Linked DNA regions of Homo sapiens: regions 1, 3 and 4 are each linked to region 2. Evidence: promoter capture Hi-C in human tissues and cell types (Jung and others, 2019). All regions are on one chromosome and are shown on one strand. Each heading gives the region's core, a stretch centred on a gene start or on the middle of the fragment in contact. The rest is flanking DNA. Distances are from core to core; before and after follow the strand shown.

Region 1 (2,982 bases), core at 102-2,601, 360 kb before region 2:
CAGAGCTACACTCTGTTTCAAAAAAAAAAAAAAAAAAAGATTGCAATGGAGCTGAAAAATTCCTATCATCTAGTGACATCATAGCAATCATAATACTGTAGCACAATACATTACTCATGTGTGTGGTGATGCTGGTATTAAGAAACCTCTGTTTCAGTGGTATAAAAGTATAGCACATACAATTACATATACCACATAAAACTCCATAATGATAATAAATGACTATGTTACTGGTTTATGTATTTGCTATACCAGTAGTCCCCAACCTTTTTGACACCAGGGACTGGTTTCATAGAAGACAATTTTTCCATGAACTAGGGGGTGGAGGATGGTTTGAGGATGATTCAAATGCATTACATTTACTGTGTACTTTATTTCTATTACAATTACATTGTAATATATAATGAAATAATTATACAATTCACCATAATGTAGAATCAGTTGGAGCCCTCAGCTTGTTTTCCTGCAACCAGATGGTCCCATCTGGGGGTGATGGGAGACAGTGACAGGTCATCAGGCATTAGATTCTCATAAGGAGTGCACAAGCTAGATCCCTCATGTGCAGAGTTCACAATAGGGTTCGTGTTCCTGTAAGAATCCAATGCTGCTGCAGATCTGACAGGAGACAGAGCTCAGGTGGTAATGCGAGTGATGCAGAGTGGCTGCAAATACAGATGAAGCTTTGTTTGCTCACCCGCCGCTCACCTCCTCTTGTGCAGCTCGGTTCCTAACAGGCCACTGACTGGTACCAGTCTGTGGCCTGGAGGTTGGGGACCCCTGCTTTATCTTATTTCTCGCATATTTAGTGAGGCCTCATCAGTTGTTAAGGCCCAGCTATTTATCTTCCCCCCAAATGTATATATTGAAACACTAATCCCCAGTGTGATAGCAGAGGAGGTAGAGATGCTGGAATGTGACTAGGTCACAAAGGTGGAGCCCTTATGAATGGGATTAGTGCCCTGGTAAGAAGCTGAAGAAACCACAGTTGTCTCCCTTCCACCATGTGAGGACTCAGCTAGAAGGTACCATCTATGAACCAGGAAGCAGACCCTCACCGGAACACAAATCTGCCAGTGCCTTAACCTTGGATTTCCCAGCATCCAGAGCTGTGAGAAATAAATTTGTTGTTTATAAGTCACCCAATTAATGGTATTTTGTTGTAGCAGCCCAAATGGACTAAGACATCAGCTAATGTATATAGAATATTTTTTACATATTTATTGGCTTTGTGGCTTCTAACATTTTAAAAATAAACTTAAAAAAAGAGAGAGAACAATGTCTACCTTTGGCCACTTGCCTCCTGCAGGGGTGGGAGGTGGTTGGGGACGCCTATACTATACTTTTTACTGTTATTTTAGAGCGCACTCTTTTTACTTACAAAAAAAAAAGTTAAGTATATAAGAGCCTCAGGCAGGTCCTTCAGGAGGTATTCCAGAAAAAGATATTGTTTTTATAGGACATGATAGCTCCATGTTTGTTATTTTTCCTGAAGACCTTCCAGTGGGACAAGATGTGGAAGTGGAAGACAGTGACACTGATAATCCTGACCTTGCGTAGGCCTAGGCTGATGTGTGTGTTTGTGTCTTAGCTTTAAAGTTTAAAAAGTAAAACAAAATAATTAAAATGGTAAAAATAGAAGATATTTTTGTGCAGCTGTAAATGTGTATTTTTTTAAGCAAAGTGTTATGCCGGGCACGATGGCTCACGCCTGTAATCCCAATACTTTGGGAGGCTGAGGCAGGTGGACGACCTGAGGTCGGGAGTTTGCGACTGCCTTGACCAACATGGAGAAACCTTGTCTTTACTAAAAATACAAAATTAGTTGGGCGTGGTGGTGCATGCCTGTAATCCCGGCTACTCAGGAGGCTGAGGCAGGAGAACTTCTTGAACCCTGGATGCAGAGGTTGCGGTGAGCTGAGGTTGCACTACTGCACTCCAGCCTGGGCAACAAGAGCAAAACTCTGTCTCAAAAAAAAAAAAAAAAAAGTCAAGAAGTTTTAAAAAATGTCTGGGCACGTTGGCTCATGCCTGCAATCCCAGAACTTTGGGAGGCCGAGGTGGGCAGATTACTTGAGGTCAGGAGTTCAAGACCAGCCTGGCCAACACAGGAGCTTGTGGGGTGTGCGGATCATCTCTACTAAAAATACAAACATTAACTGGGCATGGTGGTGCACGCTTATAATCCCAGCTACTTGGGAAGCTGAGGTGGGAGGATTGCTTGAACCTGGGAGGCAGAGGTTGCAGTGAGCTGAGATCACGCCACTGCACTCCAGCCTGGGGATAGAGTGAGACTCTGTCTCATTGCTTGAACCTGGGAGGTGGAGGTTGCAGTGAGCTGAGATCGCGCCACTGCACTCCAGACTGGGTGACAGAGTGAGACTCCATCTCAAAAAACAAAAACAAAACAAAACAATAACAACAAAAAAGTTTTAAAAAATAAGAAAGCTTATAAAGTAAAAAAGTTATAGTAAGCTATTTATTATTGAAGAAAGAAATATGTTTAAACATTTAGTGTAGCCTAAGTGTACAGTTGTTTATAAAATCTACAGCAGTGTACAGTAATAACCTAGGCCTTCATATTCACTTACCACTCACTCACTGACTCACCCAGAGCAACCTCCAGTCCTGTAAGCTCCATTCCTGGTAAGTGTCCTATACAGGTGCACCATTTTTAAAGCTTTTATGCTGTATTTTTACTGTATCTTTTCTATGTTTAGATACAGATACCATTGTGTTACAAGTGCTACAGTATTCAGTACAGTAACATGCCGTATAGGTTTGTAGCCTAGAAGCAATAAGCTATGCCATACAGCCTAGGTATGTAGTAGGCTACACCACTAGGTTTGTGTAAGTATGTGATGAAATTGCCTAATGGCATATTTCTCAGAATGTATCCCCGTCAAGTGACAAGTGATTGTATTGTGGCTTACTTTAAAATGAGAGGTACTCTTCCCTCTATCCATATCCAATCACCACTTTTAC
Region 2 (2,798 bases), core at 4-2,503:
CCGATAGGGACCGACTGTGCAAAGCCTGAACTTGGCAGAAGATCCCTGGAGAAGGAGGAGTATGGGGCTCAGAGCTGCTCCCTAAGCTGGGCTGGGGAAGGCTGAAGGCCTCCAGCCTTGCCAGAGGGAGATCCAGGTGTGCTTCAGCGGCAAGGACATGTGTTACCTTAAGCAACTGCAGCGCTAACTTAAGCATGTGCTCCTATGGCTATCGTCAACCTAGAAATCCCTTTCACTTTGGGGCGTCACACCTGTAAGCTCAGAACTATCTGAGATCCGCTGCGAGAGCCTGGATCACGATTCCCAAAAAGAAAAGCCTCCTAGTTTATTCGAGAGTAGGAAGTCATTATTTTCTGTGAAGGAAACTGGAATTGGAGAGGGAGGACCCTGGTACACTTTGGCAGAGAGGCTCCTCTCTCTTATCTAAGTATCTCCTCATCCCTCACTGCCTTTCCACCAGACCTCCAGTCCCCGCGGGCTTCCCTTTCTACCTGCCAATGTGGACTCGAGGTCAAGTGTCCCCTGGGCTAGTCTCCTTACATGGGCAAACGGGCTACGCGGGTGACAAACGCGGCGCAACGCCTCCGACCACAACACGTGTATTTTACAGCGCTGGGCGCGGCACAGGGCTCAGTTTAAGGAGCCTCCATAGAACGAGCGTGGCTCAGGACCAGGTCCCTAATGCTAGGAAATTGACGAGGTCAACAGCAGGGCGAGAAACTCTGAATACATTACACACCCTTCCTTCTTGGGAGTGGCAGTCCCCCGTCGCCACTTCACTCGCAGCCATCTATATGCCAAGGGCTCACACCAGACAAGTGTCTGTGAGCACGCCTCAACTTTAATCCTACCCCGCCGTGTCCACTGGTGCGGCTGCCCCCAGTCGAGGGTTCACCTGGGCGCTCCGCGGTGCCGGGGGCACACAGCCAGGGAGGGCGCTCTTACCAGAGAAGTCGGTGAGCGCTGAGATCTCTTTGGAGCAGACCAGGACAGTGCAGTAGAAGAGGCGCAGGAGCTGCCCCGGCGGCTCTACCTGCCGGCGGAGGCCGGGATGCTGCACGGGCTGGGGCGTCGGCGGTTGGCGTGCGCGTCCCGGCAGAAGCATCGTGCGCTGCGCGGCGGGGCGGAGGCGCAGGCCCGGGACGCGCTGGGGGTCGCAGGGCTAAGGACGGCGTCACATGGCGGGGAGAATCGATGGCCAGCGGCTCCGCGGCCCCCCGCCGCCTCCCTGCCCAGGCTGCCAGAGCCTCCTCCCCTGCGCGGGCCAGCCCAGGCGCCCCAGCAAAGGGGAGGGGGCGGAGAACTGGGGCGGGGCGAGGATCCCCGAAAAGGATCCGCGTAGTTTCCCCGAGAGGAAATCTCCGTTGCCGCCGTGCCGGAGGAAGCGAGGGGGGCCGTAGGGAAAGCGCAGCCTTCGCGCGCCCCGCGGCTGCCCAGGCCGATCCCTGGCGCGCTGCCCACCGCGGAGGGCGCCCCCAGTAGCGCGCCCCGGGCCGCGCACCTTGAGCGCCTTCCACACCCGGGAAACAGCCGGGCACCCGTGGCCCTGCCCGCGCTGGCCGGGTGCCAGCCTCGCCCTGGCGGCAGAAGGAGCGCGGCCGGTGCCCGTGACGCACTTTGGAGCCAGCGCCGCGCGTGCAGCTGGGGCGCCCCCGGGGCGGGGCCGATCGGGGGCCGCAGGAAGGTGGGGTCCTGGAGGCGTGGGATCGCACCGCTGCCATCCCCGCCACCCGCCGCGCGCCACGTGCAGTCACCCGGCACATACAGTTATCGCCATTCCACAGAAGAGGAGACTGAGCCCCGGCGCCGTGCCCAAGCTCTCGCAGCCAGGACGGCGACGAGCTGGAGGTCTCAAAACCGGTCAGATGGCTCCGGAGCCGGGATCTTTAGCTCCAGCTCGGCTTCCTTTGGGTGCTGGTTGTCCGCAGCGCTGGGGGATCTGACACTGCACCGGCGCAAACAGCCGCCGAGCGCTAATAATTGGGCTTTGTTTTAAAGTGGGCCACAGCATCTTTCTGAACCTCTAGACTGTGCGCGGGGTGACCCACGTTCGGACGCCCAGCCAGTGGCCTAGGAGTGGCCTGCGTAGCCCCAACTCAAGGGTATCGAGGACAAGTGCGCGAGGGGCTCCGTGGCTGCTTGCCGGGTGCGGGTACCTGGCGCCCAGCGACCCAAACCCTATGGATCGCGCGGGGCCGGCGGAAGGGAGGAGGGCGGGCGCTAGGCACACAGTGTTCCCGAACCCGGCGGGAGGGCCTGCCAAGTTCGCGGCGGGCGTGACGCGGAAACGTAGATAATGAGGCCCAGGGCGGGGCCGGACGCACTGCCCCGCGGGCTCCAGAGCTGCGAACGCCCCAGAGTGTGCAGGGAGGCCTGCAGAAAGAAAATGCGGCTGAGGGTCCCCGTGGGACCCACTCAGAGGTGGGCCGTAAAGATCCCGGAAGGGTGGATGGCATTAGATACCACCTAGTACTCCAGCAAGGGCTGGGTCACCGAATTGGGATCTCGGCCTCTTCTTCCAGTCTGGGGAAAAGTGTGTTAAATGCTAAACATCAGTGTTTATCGAGTGAGGCCCAGCCTGTCTGGCATAATGATTTTTAAAATCTACATTCAAATATTAAATAAAAACTCAACCTCCCCAATAACATTTGAACATAAATATTAGTGTGCGCTCTCTAGGTTAGGGAAACTGAAGCTGGGAGTGTGGGTAAGGATGCCCAGCACTTAGGAGCCACAGGGTAAGTAATGTTTGTCCAAAACTCGGGTCCCTCCTGTACTTTCCATTCTGTCTGTTCATT
Region 3 (3,050 bases), core at 337-2,836, 320 kb before region 2:
TTTCTTTCTCAATATTAATGAAACTCATTGATCTCAATGAATTTTGTTTTGCTTTTTTAAAATGGGTCCCCTGTCTCTGGGCTAGTCATTTAAACATATGTAAGTTTTGTTCTATATGGATAAATGTAAACTTTTTTTTTTTTAACATGCTGTAGCTTGCATATCTGTTTCCTTTCTTTGAAAATGTGTGCTTGGAAAAATTGATTGCAGAAGCTCTAAAATAGCCATGAAATCAGTAGCAAATTTTCTCTTAGATATACTAATTAATGAGATGCTGCTATATTTTTTTCTTTTAGGGAAAACATAAAACAGATAGTAAAACTCCTTGCAAGTGTTCGAGCTTTGGATCATGCTATGTCTGTTGCAAGTGACCACAATGTGAAAGAATTTAAGTCTTTGATCGAAGGAAAATAGATCTATGAGACTGAAAAACCTATTTGCTTGATTACCATTCCCAATGTGTAAATTTTGTATATATGTAAAGTTTCTTAAACTGTAAAATAGCAATTCTTGTTTTAATACAAAAAACATTATATTCAATACTGTGTCCTTAAATGATATTTCTTCAGAATGAAAGGAATTCAGATTATTTCTAGGAGTCTATGAATGTTTTCTTTACTGCCTGTCATACTTTGTTTACTGAAGTATTTTGTATGGTCATTTAAATTAACCCTCTCAGTTAATTGTCCCCTGTAAACGATGTGTGCAGTGTAAATTGTGTAATTATGCATATATATATTTATACCACCATGGACTTACTTTCACACTGGAAATTTGTGGTGTTTTTCCACAGAGGAAGCCTTTTAACAGCAGAAAATTATCCGGTAGCAAATTGTCTTAGGGAAATTACTACACTGTTGTAACAAAAGGGCTGGCAAGTGACTAAATGTTCATTACCTTTTGGTTAGCGTTGCTATCACTGTAGCTGTGCTGCCTTAACATTGAGAGTTGAGTTGTGGACTTAGTCATTGAGTGAATGTTGAACTTTCTTCCTTGAATCAGCGTTAGAGTCAAATGTGGGTTTAATGTGAATGCTAAATGAATATGCAACATAGTTTCAAATGGAACATAGAAATTTCACTTTTGAAAATAATAAACCCACAACCTAATTGCATGGTTTTGGGCTGACCGTCCTGTCTCATTCATGATTTTACTCCCTGCCCAGCTTGCAGATACATGCATTTGAATTTTAGTAGTCTGTCATATTTAAAATCCCACATATGTGAGTTAAATATGCAATAAAGAATACGCCTTGCTGATTAGCCACACCCAGGCAATTTAATATCCATGGTCTTCTATAATGTTTATACCACATTGTAAATATTCAGAGAACTTGTTTTAAAGTTTATGCTTTCTGATTCTGTGATTTTCAAAAGAGGAATTTTTTTGGAAATTAAGGACTATCGTTTGATAATTATATATGTAATTAAGATTTAGCCAAGCATTAAATTAATTTTTAAATATATCCTTTGTTGTATTTTCCTGACGACTAAATTTGCAGCATTTCAAATGACTCTAATAAAGTGGGACTGTGAGCAGGCCCATGTGTACCCTTGATCAGGACATAATATGCAGAACAGTGTCATGCACTGTATTTGCTCTGTTAATTTTATCTTATCCCTACATATTTGTATTAGTTCATTCTCACGCTGTTATAGGGACATACTTGAGACTAGGTAATTTATAAAGAGGTTTAATTGACTCACAGTTCCGCATGGGTGGGAAGGCCTCAGGAAACTTACAATCTTGACGAAAGGCACGTCTTCACAGGGTGGCTGCAGAGAGAAATGAGTGCTGAGGGAAGGGGGAAGTCCCTTATGAAGCCATGAGATTTCATGAGAACTCAGGAGAACAGCATGGCGGAAACCACCCCCCATGATTCAGTTATCTCCACCTGGTCCCGCCCTTGATGTGGGGATTATTACAATTCAAGGTGAGATTTGGGTGGGGACACAGAACCAAACCAAATCAGTATTCATTCTGGATGAATTTTTCATTACACCTTACTGGCCTACTAAGTAGAATTAAAGTCAGAACACCTATTCCTCATCTTAAGTAGAATAAAACATAAAACATGTATCTGTATCACATACAGATCATTTAGGCCTTAAACTGCATATTATTTCCAAACCCATTAGACTAATTACTCTGCTTTTAAGAACTCTTAAAATAGAGTTTTTATCCTATGAAATCTGTCAGGCTATATTGGTTTCAGGAATGGGTTTGAACATCACACTAGGAATTTGATGTAGGGTACATAAAACAATGGTTTTTCTATCCCAAGCAGAACATTTTTATTCCTGAAATAGCTTAAGGACATTATTTCTTATGAAAGGAATTATCAAAAGATAAATCCAGAGGGTTACATTTTAATAAAGCTGGTTTTGCTTTTCAGTTTTTTCTTTTGGAGCAATCCTCTGAATTAACTCCAAAATAGGTGACAAATGTTTTTGAGAAGGAAAGCTACTTTATTGAAACAACATAAACCACAGTCAAGAGTGACTAGTACTACTGTAGCCAATGATGTCGAAGTCTCACCATGTCCCTGTTCTTGCCACTGGTGTCCTCTTGCAAGTATTTGCTCCTCTGCCTGAGGGCTTTTCTTTGGCCTGTGCAACAGGCTGGAGTGTCCTGGAGATACTTCCTGGAACAGATCTCAGCCAAGGGAGAAAAGGAATTGGAGGCTAAATGCCCCAGTGTGTCAGTTAGGGTCCTCCTGGGAGCAGACACTGAGATGGTATTAAATGTACAGGAAGTTTATTGGGGGAATGCGTATAAGAGAAAACGGAGGGGAGCCTGGAGGAGGCTGGGAAAGCTGTCAGACAATGAGGCAGGCAGGTCTCACCTGTGTGAAGGAAGGAGGATGAAAGTCTTAGACATTGGTGCAGTTCTAAAGTTTCAGCAGGGCCAACTGGCAGCTCTGACAGGTACAACCAGGGGTCTCCTTGCTAGTATGAGATCTGAGAGACAGAATTTCCTGATGACCAAACCCAATTTGCTGATCTCTCAGGAAAGCAGGTATGGTCCACATTGCCTATAAGAGGTCTTCA
Region 4 (2,822 bases), core at 79-2,578, 300 kb before region 2:
ACTGCAGGACGACTTCCGGTGACCCAATATACATGAATATGTGGATCCCAGAAAGAAGTTGGTAGGGAAGAAAAACACTTGAAGAAATAATAGCTGGCACTTTTGCAAATTTCATGAAAGCTATGAATCCACATATCCAAGAAGCTAAATGAACATAAAGCAGAACACTATACCCAAATACATGATCAAGTTACTGTTTACCAGTGATACAGAGAAGATCTTAAAAGTAGCCCAAGGAAGAAAAGACACACATTTACAGAAGAGTGAAGATAAGAATGATAGTAGACTTTTCTTTGCAAGCAATCCAAGCCAGAGGACATTGGGAACATCTTTAAAGTACTGGAAGGAAGAAACCAAACCAAACCATTCACCTAGAGTTTTGTACCCAACCACAAATGAAGATGTAAAGACTTTTCAGACATTCGAAGGTTGAAAAAATATGAGCTAATTATAATGACTAGCAGTTTAATATTGTAGTATTACCTTTCTTAGTATCCAATACCAACATTTTCAAAACTTTTGAGATTATAAAGTCTGAATCAGTGAAATTTTGAAAGAAGCATACAAAGTGAAAGAAGCAATAAAGAGTGGAATGGGCTAGTGCAATTGTTTAGCCTTGTTAGAGTATCAAAAGGAAGTATAGTTTTAAAAATTGTGCATGATTTTTACTGGTGACAATTAAAATTTGCTTTGAGTGTTTTAATGGTTGTTAATAAGAATTTGTATTTTATCTTTTTCCAGCTTAAATAGAGTTTATAAATATAAGCCATTGCTGATCAGTAGTGTTACGTATGTGAGCACATGCATTCACATTGGGTTGCATTTCATAGCTACTGAACCAAATGATGAATGATTTGGCACTTGGAGAAAATAAATTTGGCATTTGGAGAGATATATAAATTCTTCTTGGTTGGATACTCATTACTTCCTCAGTTCAGAATGAAAAAATTTTAGACCCTTGAAATTCCTGGATAATTCTGGGCCAACTGAGTCAGTGAAAAGAAAAAAATTAAAAAAAAACTTTATTGTCTCAAAACATTAAATATTTCTATATGTTAAATGTACTTATTAAAATTTTGTGTTTCTATTTCATTATAGTCTTATTTAACTTTTTATATATAAAGGTGTGTTTACTTATATAACTAGCTCTTAGCAATAAATATTTATTATGAGTTATGTTTCATTCTGTTCACTAGTGGACCATAGGATTGCTGTAATCTCTTGAATGTGTTGCTGAAATATAGATAAACAAAATCATTTAATATCCTGTGGACCATGTGTGAACTATAAGTAGAATGAATCTTCTTTTTTCAATTTTTTTTTTTTTTGAGACAGAGTCTCACTTTGTTGCCCAGGCTGGAGTGCAGTGGCATGATCTTGGCTCACTGTAACCTCAGCCTCCTGGGTTCAGGTGATTCTCCTGCCTCAGCATCCCGAGTAGCTGAAATTATGGGTGTGCACCACCATGCCCAGCTGATTTTTGTATCTCTTTATTAGAGACAGGTTTCACCTTACTGGCCAGGCTGGTCTCGAACTCCTGACATCAAGTGATCCACCTGCCTCAGCTCCCCAAAATGCTGGGGTTACAGGCGTGAGCCACCGTGCCCGGCCTCTTTTTGTTTTTATTTTTAAATTCCAGAATCTTATAATTAAATAAATTTCTAGCTGGTTGTACCTTAGTGCTCATTAGTTGTCTTTCCTTGGTTAGCATTGGGAATATATCTTTGGCCTATCTTGTTCCCAGTTTTATCAATTCTCTTAGAGAATGGAGTAGAAAGTACAGTTTTCAGATTTTTAGTTGTGGCAAAGTGACGTAGGATTGATGAGAGCTGGGTTGAATAATTATGTTGGATGACACAATTGAGATCCAGCTTTTTGAAACTCAGATAATGGGTTAGAACCCACAAAAGGAAAATGCACTTCCCCTTGCACCGGATTGAGTGTTTGTGTATTCCTGAACCAAAAATGACTGTTGAGATATCATGTGCTGTTTGCATCAGGTAGATCATTGGCAGAAGAAGGTAGAAATTTCTGTGATTTCCATAGTATCACAAACTGTTTGGTGGCTACCAAATGAGGAAGAGTTGGAATAGGTACCGTATTGATGGTCTTACCAACCACTGCATATCCTCAAACCTGATCTTTCCTTCAGTCTCCCTTATGTCAATGGATTGCACTCCATCTACCAAGTTGTTTCAAACAACTTAAGAATCATCCTCAACACCTCTTCCCCTCACATTTCACACATTCTCTCTATTACCAAGTCTAGTCAATTCCTCCTCTTAATTTCCTTGAGATTCCATGCAACTGCCTGCATTTAGCTGGCTCTGTTTCAATCAAGACACTGTTGTCTCTTTCATGGATCATTACAATTCCCTCCTTAACTGGTCCCTCTGCTTCTACTTACCACGCCTACACCCCAGTCTTTTAAAAAACATGGTTTAGATCTTATTAATCCCCTGCCTAATACTCTTCAGTGATTGGCCACTGAAGTTAAAATCTAAACTCTAAGATGACCTACAATAAAATCGAGTTTCTGCTTCCCTCTTCAACCTGTTACCACTTTACCTCTTGGTTTCTATGTTCTAACCTCATTGGCCGCCTTTCAGTTCTGAATGTACCAAATTCTTTCTGGCGTCAGGGTCTTTACATATGCTGTTCCGTCTGCTCAAATGTATTTTTTTAAAATAATAAGCTTTTTAAATTATAATACATGTAGAAAAGTATATAAATCTTAAACATACAGCTTGATATATTATTATAGAATGAACATACCCTTATTACCACAACTGGGTTGAGAAATAGAATATTATTACTAGCAT

What was found. Contacts are between HindIII fragments. The study calls those that stand out against the background at their distance.
Region 1: a contact is called between a fragment that was not itself captured here and the fragment with the promoter of EVA1C in region 2, in 2 of the 25 tissues and cell types used here (dorsolateral prefrontal cortex and hippocampus).
Region 3: a contact is called between a fragment that was not itself captured here and the fragment with the promoter of EVA1C in region 2, in 2 of the 25 tissues and cell types used here (dorsolateral prefrontal cortex and liver).
Region 4: a fragment that was not itself captured here is called in contact with the fragment with the promoter of EVA1C in region 2 in 2 of the 25 tissues and cell types used here (H1 embryonic stem cells and dorsolateral prefrontal cortex).

Annotation. Positions count from the first base shown.
Region 1 is chr21:32,774,619-32,777,600 of GRCh38, reverse strand. All of the region lies in intron 1 of EPCIP-AS1 (EPCIP antisense RNA 1), which reads right to left. Among named protein-coding and RNA genes, the nearest start is that of EPCIP-AS1, 4.0 kb to the right of the region's middle. The HindIII fragment of the contact is 6,384 bases long and covers 1-2,982 here.
Region 2 is chr21:32,411,161-32,413,958 of GRCh38, reverse strand. EVA1C (eva-1 homolog C) reads right to left here and starts at 1,253. Exons shown (of 8, transcript NM_058187.5): 1 at 946-1,253. The coding sequence starts at 1,105. The HindIII fragment of the contact is 9,144 bases long and covers 1-2,798 here.
Region 3 is chr21:32,732,314-32,735,363 of GRCh38, reverse strand. It overlaps PAXBP1 (PAX3 and PAX7 binding protein 1), which reads left to right. Exons shown (of 18, transcript NM_016631.4): 18 at 297-1,465. The coding sequence ends at 414. PAXBP1-AS1 (PAXBP1 antisense RNA 1) reads right to left here. Exons shown (of 4, transcript NR_038879.1): 2 at 1,707-1,775. Among named protein-coding and RNA genes, the nearest start is that of PAXBP1-AS1, 5.7 kb to the right of the region's middle. The HindIII fragment of the contact is 7,980 bases long and covers 1-3,050 here.
Region 4 is chr21:32,713,980-32,716,801 of GRCh38, reverse strand. All of the region lies in intron 2 of SYNJ1 (synaptojanin 1), which reads left to right. Among named protein-coding and RNA genes, the nearest start is that of SYNJ1, 13 kb to the left of the region's middle. The HindIII fragment of the contact is 4,447 bases long and covers 1-2,822 here.